2 separate regions of the Homo sapiens genome follow, and region 2 is linked to region 1. The links are contacts of gene promoters, found by promoter capture Hi-C in blood cells and fetal thymus (Javierre and others, 2016). All regions are on one chromosome and are shown on one strand. Each heading gives the region's core, a stretch centred on a gene start or on the middle of the fragment in contact. The rest is flanking DNA. Distances are from core to core; before and after follow the strand shown.

The links. Contacts are between HindIII fragments. The CHiCAGO score rates a contact against its expected background, and 5 or more counts as called.
Region 2: a contact is called between a fragment that was not itself captured here and the fragment with the promoter of ANKRD27 in region 1, in 1 of 17 cell types (monocytes). The highest score is 5.3, in monocytes.

The regions. Positions count from the first base shown.
Region 1 is chr19:32,673,341-32,676,979 of GRCh38, reverse strand. ANKRD27 (ankyrin repeat domain 27) reads left to right here and starts at 1,800. Exons shown (of 29, transcript NM_032139.3): 1 at 1,800-1,909. RGS9BP (regulator of G protein signaling 9 binding protein) reads right to left here and starts at 1,132. Exons shown (of 1, transcript NM_207391.3): 1 at 1-1,132. The coding sequence starts at 716. The coding sequence ends at 9. RefSeq lists enhancers at 436-485, 1,256-1,365, 1,253-1,872 and silencers at 886-945, 1,516-2,245, 2,266-2,315. The HindIII fragment of the contact is 4,511 bases long and covers 1-3,414 here.
Region 2 is chr19:33,796,899-33,800,537 of GRCh38, reverse strand. KCTD15 (potassium channel tetramerization domain containing 15) reads right to left here. Exons shown (of 7, transcript NM_001129994.2): 1 at 3,551-3,639; 2 at 1,772-1,870; 3 at 18-110. The coding sequence starts at 83. Among named protein-coding and RNA genes, the nearest start is that of KCTD15, 1.8 kb to the right of the region's middle. RefSeq lists an enhancer at 1-555. The HindIII fragment of the contact is 1,346 bases long and covers 1,455-2,800 here.

The sequences.
Region 1 (3,639 bases), core at 551-3,050:
GGTGTCCGTCAGCTCAGCTTCGCCACGCACACGGCTAGGGCCACAGCCGCCAGCAGCACGGCGCCGAAAAGGATGGCGGCCAGGGCCTTCCTGGGGTCGCAACCCCCCCCGCGCTCCTGCAAGGACACGACCGAGGAGGGGCCGGCGCTGACCGTGGACAGGAGCTCGGCGCCCGCCGCCTGCCGGGCTTGCACGGTCCAGCGGGGCACGTTGACCTTCATCTCCATGTTGTCGATCATCTCGCCCACCTGAAGGACCTCGCGCTCCAGCTCCCGCAGGTCCGCGACGTCGAAGTCGCCCTCCGCCTCGAGCCGCAGGCTGCGGGTGCTCAGCGCGCGCGCCGCCACGCCGGAGGAGGCGCCAGCCACACCTGTGCGCACCAGCGGCCGCCGCGGCGCGTGCAGCGGGAACGCGGCGCCCAGCTCCAGCGCGCGTCGCATGTCCGCTTCCAGCAGGTCCAGGCAGCCCGAGAAGGCCACCCAGAGCCGCTCGAACTCGGCGCGCTCGTCGGCGGCCAGGCCCCGGTCGCGCAGCACAGCAGTCAGCCGGGCGCAGGTGGACACCGCCAGCTCCTGCGCCTTCTGGCGCGTCTTTTGCAGCTCCTGCCGCAGGTTCTGCGAGTCCGCCGAGCCACCGACGGTCAGCACCAGGTGGTGGTAGCACGCAGTCGTCTTGTTGAGCCCGTCCAGCAGCGCCTTGCACTCCTCCCTCGCCATCGCGGTGGGCTCCGGCTGGGCCCGGCCGCCCGCGCCCGTTAGCCTCCCCCTCAGCGCGGCAGGATGTGGCTAACCCCCATCCCGGCCTTGGGCCGCGCGGCACGAACGCTCTTCATGGTCCGTGACTCGCTCGGCGCTACCGCCAACGTCCACGGAGCCCGCCCGGGACCCTCGACGTGCGCCTCTGCGGACGGGGCGCGCAGAGGGAGCCCCGTTAGCGGTCCCCCGCTCCCTCGTCCATCCTCCCCAGGCGCACTCCGAGTCACACGTCGTGTCTCTGCACCGCCCTGGCCTCCACGGTGGCTCCCTGCGAAGCTGAGGGTGCGGTCCCCATCCTCCGTGGGTGCCAACTCCGGGGCAAGCAGGCTGCAGAGCCGCGCGCTCCGCCTTAGGCGCTGCCAAGGGCGGCCGGGTAGGGTTTCCTAGGACCCGCCCACCCCGCTCGTCCCGGCCGGAGCTGCCACCCCCTGGATCAGTGGTAGGCGGGGCTCCACGCGGGGAGGTCACGTGTGGGTGGCCCATCCCTCCCTCCCCTTCGCCCCATCCGAGTTCTGGAATGTTAGCGCTCGGGAGATCCAACCCGTTCTATTTTACGGATGGGGAAACTGAGGCCCAGGTAAAAAGCGGGCCAGGCTCCCGCGGAGTTTTTGCCTGTGATGGGACTAGAACCCAGCTATACTGACTCCCGGACCCTGTCGGCGACAGGACGTCGGGTGCCCCGCAGGACTGGGCACCTCCGTGCCCCAAAGCGAGCAGTGACTGGCAATCCGAGGGGCTGGGCGCCGCCGGGGTCAGGTGTCCCTGCCGCGTTGCGCTCACGTTGGTCGGTGCTTCCAAGCGCTAACCCCACCTCTAGTGTCAGCCCGGCTCCCAGCCCCGCCCCTCACGTTCTGGGCACGCGCAGTTGCGGGCGTGGGGCGGGGCCAGCTGGAGTAGGAAGCGTAGGGAGCCGCCTGAGCCCCGCCCCCGGCTGGGCTGGACTCCATGATTGCTCTGCGTACACGTCACTCTGGGAAACGACGGTTTCTCATTGGGTCAGCTGTGGCGCGGCTCCGCCCCACGGCGGAGTAAGGGGTGGGCTATAGGGCCAGATCGCCGCGCGAGGGTGGTGGGCATCGAGGTCCCAGCAGCGGACGAGGGAGGTGCCGCCGTCGCCCAGGATGGGCTGGGAATGAAGCGATGTAGCCTTTTAAGTAAGTGTCCTCGCGCTGGCCTCCTCCTGCGCCTCCCCTCCCGCGGGATGGCTGCGCCTCGGGGCGCGGCGGCCGGGCGGGGCCCGGAGAGTGAGGGGGGAGGGGCTCCCTGCTCTCCGGAGTCCGCTCCCGGGTCCGCCAGGTGGCCCCGCGCCGCCCCAGCCCCCGCGTCCCCAGGTGGGTGCCCGGTGCGCAGCCGGCGCGCCCTGCCCACTCCGCCCCTCGGGTCTGGAGGAGGGGAGCGGTCGGCGCGGAGAATGCACCCTCCGAGCCTCGCTGCGTCGACACCGGCGGGTGTGGCCGGGGTGCCGGGTCCGGCGGTTCGGATCTGGCGGGGCGCGGGGCGGTCGCCGCGCGGTTTCCCGGAGGCCTAGGGTCTGCTGGAGGGGAGCGGCGGGTGGGGGTCCGAGCCGCGCGCGCAGCGGTTGTGGTTTCCGGGGGGTGATGAGGGCGCGGAGCGGGGAATCCCTGGCTGCCGGCCTCTCGCAGGGCGGGGGGGTCTCTGCATTCCCACAGGTAAAGATTGTTAAAGGAAAACTCTTAAGCACCGAGAGATGTTCCGGATTCTGAGTCTGTTCCGTCTTGTGGTTGAAAATGGACTGCCCAGGAGCACACGAGCCACGCGGTGCCCCCTTGGCTGCCCCACGAGGTGCAGGGGACGTGGGCACTCGCGGCCTGTGCTGGGCGAGGGAGCAAGGGACGGGTCTTCGCTGAGGATTTAGAGCATGCAGGGAACGAGGGCTGCTGGCAGTGCTGGAGGGACTGTGAGGCTGCAGAGAGCTCAGATTTTACAAGTTGATGGGTTTCATGGATAGAGGCCCCTATTTTGATTAAAAAATGCACTCTTCCCACTGGCCGAAGAGTAGAGCAGTGGATATTTTTTTTCTTTTCTTTCTTTTCGTTTTTTTCTTTTTGAGACAGGGTCTGGCTCTGTTGGCTAGTCTGGAGTGCAGTGATGCCATCATAGCTCATTGCAGCCTCAAACTCCTGGACTCAAGCAATCCTTTCACCTCAGCCTCTGTAGTAGCTGGGACTACAGGCGCATGCCACTATGCACGGCTAATTTTTAATTTTTTTTTTTTTTTTTTGTAGAGATGGAGTCTAGCAGGTTGCCTAGGCTGGTCTTGAACTCCTGGACTCAAGCCATGCTCTCGTCTTGGCCTCCCAAGGTGTTGGGATTACAGGCACTAGCCACCACGTTTTGCTGAGCAGTAGCTGTTACGTTTCGAGATCAGCCTGGCATGAGGACTGGTGTTGAGGTGGCCTAAGGGTCCGGTGTACTGAGCCCCGGGGCCTGCTGTCACCCAGGGGTCCGTCCTTTAACTGGGTGAGCAGTAGGCTGGGTGTTTGCTGCCAGGGCTTGGGTACTCCTGGCCTTGACCATTGTGTGGAAGGGGGGTTCTCAGCCACCCACACGCTACATAGGGTCGTTCCCAGGGGGATAGTAGTTTTCAGGACAAAATGGGTGGAAAGAGGGAAAATACTCTTTCCCTTCGGGGGAAGCTTTGGAGACAGCAGAGGGTGAGGAAGCTGCAAAGGTGGCCAGAGGCCAGATGTGCCAGGTCCTGAGCACCTAGCAGAGAAGTTGAGGGCTCACCTGGTGGGGAGTGCAGGGGAATCCTTTGAGGAATCCTGCAGAGCTCGGCGCTGGAAAGATCGCTTTGTTGTGTTGCTGGTGGACAGGCGTGAGTGAAATCCAGGGGGCAGATCCAGGAGGCACAGCCCGTAGG
Region 2 (3,639 bases), core at 878-3,377, 1.1 Mb before region 1:
CCACCCTGCAGGCTCACCGCGGTGCCGGTGCTGCCGTGTGTGTGAAGCGAGGACCCGCTCGGCCGCTCCTTGCGGTGAGGCATCTAGGCTTCCATCCCTGCCCAGAGTATCTGCGGGAGGCATCGACAAAACCAGAGAAGGCTTATTCCTCCTAGTCATGTACCATGGGGTCAAAGACACTTAGAATTGTCCTTTCTGCATGCTCTCTGAGACCCTGCGAGGTCCATGCAGCCCTCCCTGATTGACTCCACCGCCACTATCTCTCTATCTGTCTCCACACCCCAAAGCAGGCCTCCAGGCTGTAGCAGATGACACACACATACATGCACACACACACAGTCACACTCACACATGTGTTTTCTGGGCAGCTCCATGTCTGCTAATTCGGCTAATGACAGCACTGAAACATATGCTCACCATTATTGCCCCAAAATATTTCAGAACAAACCAGATTTTCCTGGTATTTTCCTTTCAAGCCATGTTACCAAGCGTGTCTCCTCTTGCAACAGCCTTGTGGACCAAGGCTCAGAAAGCACCCCTCACCCTCCATGGGCCAGGGAACCTAGGACCTCTCTTAATACCATCCCCATGGTGATAAGATACAGCTTGCATCTGGCCAGACACAGGGAAGCCGTTCAGCAGAAGTCCAGGCACATGGATGAGGGCAAGTCACTTGGGAAGCCGCCTCTTCTCTGTGGCTCCCAATAGCAGAGAAAACCTGTCTTTGTTTGCCTAGTCTGTACCTCACAGTTTCTCCCCAGACTCCCAGAGTGGTGTTGTCTATGCCTAATGCATTCCAGACCCCTCAGGATCACATACCCCCGAGGCATCAGGAGATGGCCAGGTGGCCAGGAGGAAGCACAGAGCAAGCAGATCAGCCAATGGACCCTTTCTACTGCTCCTCCCCAGAGGCACTCAGTAACTCTCCTCTGTGCCGTAGTCACCTGAAATAAGATTGTCCCTCAGTCCCTGGAAGCCACACCCAGGGGCGCTTTGCAGGCCCTATGCAGGAGGGGCAGAATTCTGCAGCCCCGTTCACTGATTTACAGCTGTCTCAAAAGGGAGGAAAGAGGAGATTTGCACGTGAATAGTCACCCCCCTTCACACATCCACAGACACTGGCTTCCACAAACCTACCCTGGACGTCTCTCGAAGGTTTAACCTTTAAGAGAGAAACCACTTGAAATTCTTGGGACCCATGGGATTGCTTTTTCCCATTAAAACTCTGGGATCAAAATTTGTGCCTTGAAATTCAATATCCAATTTTAATCCAACCAGAATCAAATCCTGCAAATGTAAGCAAGGTTGCTCTCCCTGAGTGCCCGGGCAAGTTTCCTGACATAAAACTGGGGTGGGAGGTTGCAATGGGCAGACAGTGATGTTTAATATATACCCTCACTGGGGCCTGTGGACTCAGAATCCACTGCTTTTGGCATTCCTGAGTTCTACAAGCTTAAAAAAACAAAACCAGGTCACTTAGCTCAAGGAGTTCTGAGAACCAAAACAGACCTCAGGAATGGATTATCCTGCCCTAGGAGGCTCTGCTGGGGGAGGAGTCAGAAGGGAAGACGCGCTGAGGATAAACTGAACAGGAAGGAATTCTGGCTGAAATTCTATCAAAGCGGACTGCAAGATGTTTTCCCCAATACCAGGACACTATTCCAAAGTGACGTGAACACCAAGCCTCCATCACAGAAGCCGCTCCACTCTGTTCTTAGCCCCTTTTCCCTCCCAAGAACAACCTGATGTTCATGGCAAGCCAGAAACTTACCGTTGGAAGCCCCAGGCTTTACGCCTTGCCGTGAATCTCCAAGGTTTCTCCCAACAAGCGCATCCGTGCGGGACCACGACCCTCTTTCCGAGACCACTGCTTAAGTCAGAAGCACAAAAGTGGGTGCAGTGAGAGATACAAGTTCATTCCACCAGCACCAGCATCAAACCCAGCACCCAGCCCCAGTGCGCCCTGGCCCGCCTGTTGCAGGGGCCTCAGCGATAGCGGTCGGGAGGGCCCACAGGTTTCCAAACTGGCCCGGTAGTGACCCGCTTCTCCAGCTGCGGCGGGAGACCCGGGTCCCTGCCCGCCCGCCGCCGAGCCCCGCCCGCCCGAGCAGAGAGAAGTGAGCAGAATGCCACGCTCATTTACACACAAAATGATTTTGTGTCCCATTGCGCTCGCAGTTGTTCGGCTCTCTGGGGGTGATTAAACTGGCTGAGCTGCGGCAGCTTGAGACGATTTCACTAAATCGCTTCTTCTGAAGTCGCTTCTTTGCTAAGCTGTTATTTTAACCATAAAAGGTAAACAGAAGGCGCCTCTCGAGCTCCCCTCGGCTCCGCACTCAGGGCGCTGGCCCGGGGCGAAAGTCCTGGGGGCCTGCACAATTGTCCCAGGGGTGGCCCCGGAGAGGCAGGCGGGCCACCTGGTGCGCGCCAGCCTCCCCACCCCCCCCCTCCCGCCTCCGCCGCGGAGCCAGCCGGCCGGTGTGAACTTAGGGGCGACGGGAGAGGGCTTGGGCCAAGGCTGGAGGCGCCGCGGGGCGGGGTGGCCGCGGCACCCGAAGCGCGGGGCTGGGCTGGGAGGGGTTGCCGCGGAGGCGGGGCGGGGACAAAGTTAAATCAAGAGGCAGACACTTGGAGACCACAGATGGGAAGCTCGCCTAATTAAGGACGTAAAAGCGCTTTTGTTCTCAAAGTTTATTGTTGCCGGGATTAAAAAAAAATTAATTGAAACTAATGCTGTTATTCACTCGTGCAGTTAAATTCCTTCATGCACATTTGAGATACGGAGCGAAAACTTGAAGCTTATCTTTCTGCAGTCGCGGGTGGGGGCCGCCGGAAGACAGAAAGGCGCTGCAGAGGCGGGGGTCCGCCCCCGGGTGTGTTTGCGAGTGTGTGCCGGGTGCGCGCGTCCAGGTCAGGGGGTGCGGGCGGGCAGCGGGGAACCGGATCTGCAGGCGGCGATCCCTCCCATCGCGGCCCCTCTCCCAGCCCCAAACCCTGCGCGCCCGGGACCACCACCAGCGCGACAGCCCCTCCTGCCAGGTTTCGGACTCGTGGGGTGGGCGTCAGAGGACGCACATCTGTCCCACTGGAGACTTTCTCTGATTTTGGGCGCCAAGCCGGGACTTGTGCATCCCGAAGCCCCAGTTGCGTGAGCCCGTTTCTGACCCCGGAAACTCGCCAGCTCTGCAGGGCGCTCGGCCCAGAACAGGGGCCAGAGTGCGGGGACCTCCACAAGCGCGCGCGCGCGCGCGCGCACACACACACACACACACACACACACACACACACACCGCGCGGCAGGAAGCTCCGAGACCGCCCGCGTGGGGAGGGTCCACCCGCGGCCAGGACCAGCCCACGTGGGCAACCCCACTCTTGCACCAGGCCTTTGTGCTGGGCACCCCCGCGCCGCCAGCCCCCGCCGCCCAGCAGAGGGACAAAGCGGCCGCCCCCGCCCAGGTCCAGACCCTGGCCGGGCGACTTTCTCGGTATCGCAGCCACTTCGGGGCAGGGTTGCGCGGCTCTGAGCGGTGGCCGCCCGCGCTGAGCTTACCTCGGAGCCGGCAGATCGGGCTCGGGCGCAGCCCCCGCCCCACGCAGCTGCCGGTCTCGGGCGCCGGGCGCAGCTTCGCCGCCTATGCT